Linked DNA regions of Homo sapiens: regions 1 and 2 are each linked to region 3. The links are contacts of gene promoters, found by promoter capture Hi-C in human tissues and cell types (Jung and others, 2019). All regions are on one chromosome and are shown on one strand. The core of a region is centred on a gene start or on the middle of the fragment in contact, and the rest is flanking DNA. Distances in the headings are between cores, read along the strand shown.

What was found. Contacts are between HindIII fragments. The study calls those that stand out against the background at their distance.
Region 1: a contact is called between a fragment that was not itself captured here and the fragment with the promoter of GJD4 in region 3, in 1 of the 25 tissues and cell types used here (aorta).
Region 2: a contact is called between a fragment that was not itself captured here and the fragment with the promoter of GJD4 in region 3, in 1 of the 25 tissues and cell types used here (mesendoderm cells).

The regions. Positions count from the first base shown.
Region 1 is chr10:35,277,989-35,281,363 of GRCh38, forward strand. It overlaps a transcript of CCNY not described here. Among named protein-coding and RNA genes, the nearest start is that of LINC02634, 35 kb to the left of the region's middle. The HindIII fragment of the contact is 4,093 bases long and covers 5-3,375 here.
Region 2 is chr10:35,115,143-35,118,395 of GRCh38, forward strand. It overlaps a transcript of CUL2 not described here. Among named protein-coding and RNA genes, the nearest start is that of CREM, 10 kb to the right of the region's middle. The HindIII fragment of the contact is 9,031 bases long and covers 1-3,253 here.
Region 3 is chr10:35,603,006-35,606,615 of GRCh38, forward strand. It overlaps GJD4 (gap junction protein delta 4), which reads left to right and starts at 2,336. Exons shown (of 2, transcript NM_153368.3): 1 at 2,336-2,626. The coding sequence starts at 2,563. GJD4-AS1 (GJD4 antisense RNA 1) reads right to left here. Exons shown (of 2, transcript NR_199600.1): 2 at 1,557-2,960. The HindIII fragment of the contact is 12,098 bases long and covers 1-3,189 here.

The DNA of each region.
Region 1 (3,375 bases), core at 801-3,300, 330 kb before region 3:
CCTGCCTTTAGTGCAGAGTTTAGGAAGGGTGAGCCTGGAGGTGCTTGGGTGGTCAGGTGAGGGGAAAGAGGGGATGAATTCAAAGTCTTTGGCAGGAGTGTCACCTGAGAGATGGATGACGTCGGGAGAAGAGGGGAAGAGAGTGTGAGGCCAGCTCTCCAGCAAGTCTTCCAGCCTCTGCTGACCTTCCCCCCATCCTCATCCTATCATTAGGGACTGTCAAGAGCTCAAAAGATACAATGCTGATTACAGACCAGTAATAGGTCATGTCCCAGCAAAGTCCAACTGAGGATGCCGTGGGCCTGACAAGGGAGAGGAGAGAGCACACGCCGAAGGAGCTGGAGAATACGCCAGAGGAACCAAGGCCACTCCAGGTGAAAGTCAGTCCCTGAACTGCTGCAGCACCCCAGATCTGTCCATACTCCGCCCAACACTAGTGATGGGGTCCCTACTGCCAGCTTGCCAGCAGGGATCCAGCTCCAAAGTCCCATCTTAGAGTCTGCTTCCCAGGACCACCTCAATTTTCTTAGATATTCCCTGGAAACAGAGGTAGAGTGTTGCATACAGAAAGGCTGTCGAGAGGCATGTGTAGGCAGCTGAGGAAGACAGGACTGAGCAGAAGGAGAAACTGATCCAAAATGCAAGTTCAACTAAAGCTTTAGGCAATTCTATAGGGTGCTCTGGAGCTGGGCTGGAGATCATTCTTTTGTGACCCTGGTATTGGCCATGGGTCACCTACTGGGAGGGGAATACCCTTGGGCAAGGCAGTTCTCTGTGGTTGAGGGCCTTCCCAGTAAGTGACGCAGCTGTGAACCTTCCCTGCCAGGAGCCAGGGGCTGGGTGCACTGGCCCCGAGAGGGGATCCTGGCAAAGGCACACTATCCACCATGCCTTCTGCCTCCAGCTGCCCTCTCTCTCTTTTCTATTTCATTAGTTCTTCTCTATTGGCCCATTCTCATCAGTACATGATGTTGCTGGTAATGCCGCCCATAGAAAAACAAACAACCAAACAAGACACCCTCTGTTGGGGGCTCAGTGCGGCTCTCCAGAGCTCTCCAAGTAGTGTTAGAGTCGTGATTAAAACAACAAGCCAAAATGAAAGCACCAGTCAAGCTTTCAATGTTTTTTTTTTTTTTTTTTTTTTTGAGACAGGGTCTCACTCTATCACCCAGGCTGGAGTGCAGTGGCACAATTTTGGCTCATTGCAACCTCCGTCTCCCCAGTTCAAGTGATTCTTCTGCCTCAGCCTCCTGAGTAGCTGGAATCACAGGCATGCACCACCACGCCCAGCTAGTTTTTGTTTTTAGTAGAGATGGGGTTTCACCATGTTGGCCAGTCTGGTCTTGAACTCCTGGCCTCAAGCAATCCACCTGCCTCAGCCTCCCAAAGTGCTGGGATTACAGGCATAAGCCACTGCTCCTGGTCATGCCTTCAATCATCTAACGCCATACCTTAAGCAAAGGGCTCGCTTGGAGGGAATGTCCACTCCCATCTGCTCTGTTTTCCCTCATGGAACAGTGTGCAGAGGGTCAGATATCAGGGGAAGGGTTAAGGGTGGAAAATAACCAAGTCCAAGTAGAGAAAAGCAAGATTCCTTCTTCTCTTCATGATAAGAAGAGGCATCTGAGGAAGGCCTCATTCAGAGACCCCAAAGAGATTTCAAATGGAGGCACCTGGACTAGGAATGCAGATATGTGAGAGCAAGGCCTGCCCATGGGACCTGAGTCCTTGACCACAGCACCCTTCAGGACTGTCATGCACTGACTGTGCATCAAGTCTGGCATGGAAAGGGCAGCCTTCCCTGTGAGGCCTGCCAGGAAAAGCCTGTGTAATTGCCTATGATCAAGTTTGAAAGATCACATAGAGGTCTTTAGCTAAGAGCTGAACTCCTAACCCCCTGTTATGGCTCCATCCCCCAGCTGCTTTTGCTAGCAAACTCCTCAATAAACTTGTTTCTACTCACTATTTCCAATTCCACAATCCCATTCTGCCATGAATCCATTTCCATTAAATTTTTGTCTCCATCATTTCATAAAAACTGCTATTGTTCAGATCACCAAAGATCTCCACGTTTCATCTTTGTATCTATGTCCAGTTGATTTTGACAAGGGTACCAAGACCATTTGGTAAAGAAAGAATACCAGCTTGGGCTACATGATGAAACCTTGTCTCTACAAAAAATACAAAAATTAGCCAAGCATGGTGGTGCATGCCTTTAGTCCCAGCTACTCAGGAGGCTGAGGCAGGAGAATCGCTTGAACCTGGGAGTTGGAGGTTGCAGTGAGCTGAGATTGCACCACTGCATTCCAGCCTGGGTGAAAGAGTGAGGAAAGAAGGAAAGAAAGAAAGGAAGAAAGGAAGAAGGAAAGAAAGAAAGGAAGAAAGGAAGAAGGGAAGAAAGGAAGAAGGAAAGGAAGGAAGGAAGAAAGGAAGGAGGAAAGGGGAGGAAGGAAAGAAGGAAGGAAGGAAAGAAGGGAGGAAGGAAGGAAAGAAGGAAGGAAGGAAGGAAGGAAGGAAGGAAGAGTCTTTTCAACAAATGATACTGGGACAACTGAATAGCCACATGCAAAAGAATGAAGTTGGACCCTTACCTCACACCATACACAAAAATTAACTCAAAACAGATTGAAATATTAAATGTAGGAGCCCAAAATACAAACCTCTTAAAAGTAAACATAGAAATAATGACTCTGGATTTAGTGACAGCTTCTGAGATATGACACTGAAAGCAAGAGAAGTCAAAGAAAAAATAGAGAAATTGGACATCAGCAAAATAGAAAACATTTACACTTCAAAATACACTATTGAGAAAGTGAAAGACAACCCATGGAATGCAATAAAATTTTCACAAATCACATATCTAATAAGCAACTTGTATATAGACTACATAAAGAGCTCTTACAACTCAATACTAAAAAGACATACAATCTAAATAAAAAATGGGCAAAGGATCTGGAGGTATTTCTCCGAAGAATACATACATGTGGCCAAAAAGCACACGAAAAGTTGCTCTACCTCATTAGTCATCAGGGAAATGCAAATCAAAGCCACAATCAAACGCCACTTCACACCCACTGGCATGGCTATAATGAAGACATCAGGTAAAAAGAGGGAGAATGTGGAGAAATTGGAACCACTCACATACACTGGTGGGAATGGAAAATGCCATTGTGGAAAACAGGCACTCCTTTAAAAGTTTCCATAGTTACCATTTGACCCACCAATTTCACTCCTAGGTATGCACCCAAAAGAAATGGAATGTCTACATAAAAGCTTGTACAGGAATTTTTATTATTTATTTATTATTTATTTATTTATTTATTTTGTTGAGACAGAGTCTGACTCTGTCGCCCAGGGTGGAGTGCAGTGGTGCGA
Region 2 (3,253 bases), core at 296-2,795, 490 kb before region 3:
CAGGAGATTCTCTTGAACCCAGGAAGCAGAGGTTGCAGTGAGCCGAGGTCATGCTACTGCATGCCAGCCTGGGCAACACAGCAAGATTCTGTCTAAAAAATAAAATAAAAATAAAATGGAGCACAAAGAGAAAACAAGGCCAGGTGCAGTGGCTCACACCTGTAATCCCAGCACTTTGGGAGGCGGAGGCGGGCGGATAGCGAGGTTAGGAATTCAAGACCAGCCTGGCAAACATAATGAAACCCCGTCTCTACTAAAACACAAAAATTTAGCCAGGCATGCTGGCAGGCGCCTGTAATCCCAGCTACTCGGGAGGCTGAGGCAGGAAAATCGCTTGAACCTGGGAGGCAGAGGTTGCAGTGAGCTGAGATCGCGCCACTACACTCTAGCCTGGGTGACAGAGCAATACTCCATCTCAAAAGAAAATATTAACAAGGGAGATAAATTAATTAATCTAAATGTTGGTTCTGGCTGGGTGTGGTGGCTCACACCTGTAAACTCAGCACTTTGGGAGGCCAAGGCATGAGGATCACTTGAGCCCACGAGTTTGAGACCTGCCTGGGCAACATAGTGACACCCCCATCACTACAAAAAAATACAAAAATTAGCTGGGTGTGGCACACACTTGTAGTTCTAGCTACTAGGGGGACTGAGGCAGAAGGATGGGTTGAACCTGGGAGGCTGAGGCTGAAGTGAGCCGAGATTGCGCCACTGCACTCCAGCCTGCATGACAAAGTGAGACCTGGTCTCAAAAAATATAATAAAATAATAAATAAATGTTGATTCTTTGAAGAGAGCAATAAAATTGATAAAAACTGAAACAGGGAAAGAGAAAAGATAAAAATTACCAAGATTTGGCTTGAAAGATGATATCACTACAGATCTGATAGACATTAAAGGATAAAAAAAAATATTATGGGCCGGGCACAGCGGTTCACACCTGTAATCCCAGCACTTTGGGAGGCCGAGGTGGGCAGATAACCTGAGGTCAGGAGTTTGAGACTAGGCTGGCCAACATGGTGAAACTCTGTCTCTACTAAAAATACAAAAATTAGCCAGGTGTGGTGGCAGGCGCCTGTAATCCCAGCTACTCCGGAGGCTGAGGCACAAGAATTCCTTGAACCTGGGAGGTGGAGGTTGTGTAGCAAGCTGAGATCATGCCACTGCACTCCAGCCTGGGCGACGGAGCCAGACTCCATCTCAAAAAAAAAATTATGAACAATTTTATGACAATAAATTTGACAATGGAGACAAAATAGAGAAATTCTCTGAAAGGCATAAACTACAAAACTTACTCTTTTTTAGTAAGAAATAGATAAGCTGAAAAGATCTATATCTATTGTTTCTCTCTGATGATGTTTAATTTCACAGTAATGTACCCAGCTGTGGCTTTTTTTTGTGATCTCGTTTAACCCTCTTTGAATCCTTTCAATCTGAAATTTTCCTTATTTATGATGTAAGAATATGACTTTTGGGGGATTTAAAAAACATTATGTCAAGTATTTAGTAAATGTTCAGTACTCAGTAAATATTAGATGCTCTGGCTGGGCATGGTGGCTCAAGCCTGTAATCCCAGCATTTTGGGAGGCCAATGCAGGCAGATCACAAGGTCAAGAGATTGAGACCATCCTGGTGAAAACCCATCTCTACTAAAAATACAAAAGAATAGCTGGGCGTGGTGGCGCACGCCTGTAGTCCCAGCTACCCGGGAGGCTGAGGTGGGAGAATCGCTTAAACCTGGGAGGTAGAGGTTGCAGTGAGTCGAGACTGTGCCACTGCACTCCAGCCTGGGCGACAGGGTGAGATTCCGTCTCAAAAAAAAAAAAAAAGTTAGCCAGGGCTGATTTCCAGCTTGTTTTGGATATAAACATCCAGAAGAGACATTTCTTCCACCCTTACAATGAAAAAAAAGGTAAACTTCCTTCAAATTACAGAGTATTTTTGAATTTATCGAAGAGTTGAGTTCCCAGGACAAAAAACTGGTCCAAAATCTAAGAAGCAACAGATGCCTGCAGGAAGAGAAGGGCACTAGCTTACTTGGGACAGACACAACCAGATACTGGTATATGTTTAGCTAGAAGAATTGCGGAATTCACGAAGGCTGGTGTGGACTGGCAGAGCACTCAACTCTGTTGCTCAGGCTGGAGTGCAGTGGTATGATCTTGGCTCACTGCAGCCTAGTCTATCTCACAGGCTCAATCCTCCCACCTCAGCTCTCGAGTATTGGGACTATAGATGAGTGCCACCATGCCTGGCATTTTATTTTTTGTAGAGACAAGGTCTCACTATGTTTCCCAGTCTGGTCTTGAACTCCTGAGCTCAAGCAATTCTCCTGCCTCAGCCTCACAAAGTGTTGGAATTACAGGCGTGAGTCACTGCAACTGGCTTTTTTTTTTTTTTTAACTGCTGTAAAAGGCAACTATCGAAAGCAAAAATAGCACAAGTATTGTATGTTTACAGCATTTGTAAAAGTGAAATATATGGCAACATTGGCACAATGAATAGAAGAGTTGGGAATATACTGTTTTAAAGTCCTTCTGCTACATGTGAGTGGTGTATTACTGAAGGTTCCTATTATGTGGAACCTATTTGACTGGACCATTCCATGAAAGTTGTAGGCATGAAAGAATAAAAGTGTTACAGAAATATGTGACCTTGAATTCTAAAATTACACTGCATTACATGTATTTTTATAACAAGTATGCTCTTATGCTTTAAAAAACTGTCTTTGTTTTCTTAATAGACTTGATTTTTTTCAGAACAATTTTAGGTGCACAGCAAAAACGAGCAGAAAGTACACAGTTCCTTTCATCCCCTCCCCCATATATGCACAGCCTCCCTATCAACATCCTGCACCAGCATGTTCTACTTGTTAGAACTGATGAACCTACATTGACACATCATAATCATCCAAAGTGCATACATTAGGCTTCATTCTCAGTGATGTACATTCAATGGGTTTTGACAAATGTGTAATAGCATGCATCCACCATTATAGTATCATGCAGAATAGTTTCACTGCCCAAAAAATCCTGTGCACTCCCCTTGGTCATTCTAAATTTTCATTTCTCTGAAGCTAGAAATCCCAAAGTTAGAGTTGGCCTTTTTCATTCTAAAGTATGTCTTCAATTCTGGGAAATTCTCAGCAATAATTCTTTCACATGTTCTTTTTTTCCCCTTCTGGAATTTCCATTAGAAAAATATTTATGCTTCTACCTTCCACATTTCTTAACTCTCCTTTCATGCTTTCCAT
Region 3 (3,610 bases), core at 1,086-3,585:
TGATCCTCCATCCTCGGCCTCTCAAAGTGCTGGGATTACAGATGTGAGCCACAGGGCCCATGCTGACCACTTGCGTTTAGTGAACTATCCCAGTTTGGCATCTTGTACACTTCAGCCCGACTCCCAGCTGGTTTCTTTGGCCATGGGTTGAACACAGCACTCCCCACATCTTCTCTCTAATCCACAGACACATACAGAAACCTTCCCATCGGTGCTGGGATGCTCTTACAGAGAGTCGGGAGTTGATGCCCAGATGCCTCCACCTTCTCTGCTTCCCTTACCTCCAGCTAGCTTCAGGTAGCCACTGGAGTTAGGATTTCTTTTCTTTTTTGAGATGTAGTCTCGCTCTGTCACCCAGGCTAGAGTACAGTGGTGTGTGATCTGGGCTCACTGCAACCTCCGCCTCCTGAGTTCAAGTGATTCTCCTGACTCAGCCTCCCAAGTAGCTGGGACTACAGGTGCCCACCACCATGCCCGGCTAATTATTGTATTTTTAGTAGAGATGGGGTTTCGCCATGTTGGCCAGGCTAGTCTTGAACTCCTGACCTCAGGTGATCCACCCACCTCAGCCTCCCAAAGTGCTGGGATTTACAGGCGTGAGCCACCGCGCCTGACCAGAGTTAGATTTCCAAGTAAAGCAAAATGTCACCTAGCAGGAGAGAGGAAAAAAAGAGAAAGAGAAAAAAGACAAGGAATGGGGATGGGGTAGACTTCAAGGAGGAAGAGCAAAGGTGACCAGGATGAGAAGGGAGATGGGTGGGCATGGGCTGCTCAGAAGATGCCCTGAAGGGTGGGACCAGAGGAGCCAACCCTGAGAAGCGCCTGTCACTGACACTGGGTCATTCTTTACATTTCAAAATCATTTTCACATCTCTGGTCACATTTGCATATCACAGTCACTGTGAGTGGGTGAAGAACACATTCTTTTTTTCTGCTTCACTGATGAGAAAACCGAAGCATGAAAAGCTGCAGTGATTTGCTCATGGTCGCGCAGGGCTAATTTATTCCACATTTGGGATGGGCTATTTCTATCACACAGCAAGAGTCAGTAATTGCTTTCCTGATATTTCATTTTTTTTTTAAAGCCAATACCATGAGCAGTCTATTAGGAGACAAATTCTCCTTTATTTTATACTTACACCCTGTGACTATTTCAATATTTTTACTTAACTACAATTTCTCAAATTTCCTTGCTCATGTCGAAGCATTTGACTAAAATATAGCAAAACCACTGTTCCTTTCAAGGGGGTCAAAACGTTTTCCGTGGATGGGAGCATGTCATGTGAGCAAAGATGAAAGTAGCTTTGTTGCACTCTTCTGGGAATCTTTCTAGGGATATTACTAAAGTCAAGAATAGATCAGAAATGAAGAAAAGATGGGGATATAAAGAATAGCTTTCATGGAAAATTGAAATCATTCCTTTTAAAGTTTACAATTTCCACCCTGATCATAGATCCCCAACCCTGCAGGATGGGTTCTTCCCAGATATGAAGGTGGCTGCAGCGATAGGATTTTGACGCAACTGTGATTGATGTCAGCAGGTCCAGACCGTGATATTTCATGACAGATTTAACAGACATTTATTAAGTAGATTCAATGGGAACAGCTCCAGGCTAGATGGGGCTGGGAGATACAAAGGGAAGATGTAATCTGTGAAGGTCGTAGAGGCCAATTAGGGATTGAAATCCCACGGATATGGGTTGTCGTACACCCACTTCACACCAGTTGCTCTTATTCTACACCATCATTTCACATAAGCCTCCCACAAATGGCAAGTGGAATGGCATGATTCTCCTTATTGCAAGATGAGGCTATCTGGAAGGATCCAATGACTTCCCCAGTGAGTAGGGGGCTGCCCCGGGCTTTGCACCCAGGCTTTTGTCTCCAAGCGAAGAGTTGTCACTCACTGCACAGGAAGCAGCAGGAGAATAACCAAGTCACGGTCTAAAGTTGGGACACCCAACTGAGTTTCAGATTTCTGCCTGCACCAATGACACAGGAATTCAGAATAAGGGCGAGATCCTTGTGGGTTCGTGTGATGGTGGCATGGCGATTCATGCTTGATTGAGAAGACAAAACGTGAACACTTTAAGGGCTTCTTGCACAAGTGAAGTGGTTGTGGAAATGTTTTCAAGGAGGAAATGCCTTTTTAATAGAGAAATTTACTTGGCTAGTTAGCAGAAGTTTTCTTTCTTGGGTTAAAAGTAGTTGCTGCTATTATATCCTGAAGCATCTGGCTGTCCTGGTGGGGACATATGAGCGCTGCCACAGGCCGGGAATATCCCAGGCGAGTAAGAATAGCCCACAATAAGAGATGACTGCTGCTTGCTCTGCTGGTCACTGCAGTTGTCAGGAATGTTTCGCCTCAGAGGCAAACGGCTTAGGGCCGTCTCAACTTGGAGACAGAAAAACCCACCTCCTACTCCTGGCTCAGACCTTTGCTTTCTTATCTCCAGCTCACACCTTTAAGTCTTATGTAGTTAAAGGACATTTATCCGCCTCCTTGGAGAACACAGCCCTCCAGTGTCTCCTGCAGCCTGGAGCCTGGGACATTCTGGAAGCATGGAAGGCGTGGACTTGCTAGGGTTTCTCATCATCACATTAAACTGCAACGTGACCATGGTGGGTGAGTATTGGGACCATCTCCAAACTCCTGCGCTGTTTTTATTTCCACTGCCATGGTGGAATTGAGTCCTTAAAGGGTCCAGGTATTTACTCATTTTCAGTGTGCAAGCACCAAGCTGAAAGTCCACCCACTCCCAAAAGAAAGGGCTGTGCCTTTCTGGAGGGAAGAGAGCTGAGGCTTCTAGTTTCTTTGAATGGTTCCGCGGTTCCTCCGTCATGTAAGGGAGTCTTGCGTTTGACATTGTTCTCTCACAGATCATCCTGTGCTGACACTGGGGTGCTGACTCCAAAGACCAAAGCAGGTGGAGGGGTGTTTGTGTGCAACCCTGGTGTGGCTACGTTACCAGGAAAAGGAACAGAACAACAAATGTTAATCAGAAGGTGATACCTTTAGGTTTTATTCTGGAAGCTTGGTTTTTTTTTTTTGTTTTTGGAGACAGAGTCTCACTCTGTTGCCCAGGCTGGAGTGCAGTGATGCAATCTCAGCTCACTGCAACCTCTGCCTCCCGGGTTCAAGTGATTCTCCTGCCTCAGCCTCCCGAGTAGCTGGGACTACAGGCGCCTGCCACCACGCCCAGCTAATTTTCTGTGTTTTTAGTAGAGACGGGGTTTCACCGTGTTAGCCAGGATGGTCTCGATCTCCTGACCTCGTGAGCCACCCGCCTTGGCTTCCCAAAGTGCTGGGATTACAGGCGTGAGTTACCACGCCTGGCCTGGAAGCTTAATTTTTAAGGAGTAGCCATTTCTCTTGTGCACTTTAAACCAAATCCCAAGTTTAGTTATTTTTTTTAACAAAGAAAATAATAGATTTTTGTTTAATGCAGACGACTCACATTTTCAGAGAGGTATGGGGGTCAGAAAAGGATGAATATATGCCGGAGATGCAGTTGATACTTTTCTGGCTCATTATTTTGTAGATTTAGACAAAACCAACTTGATGTTAAAAGTTCAACTCAATGACTCATCACATAATGATATTATTCTT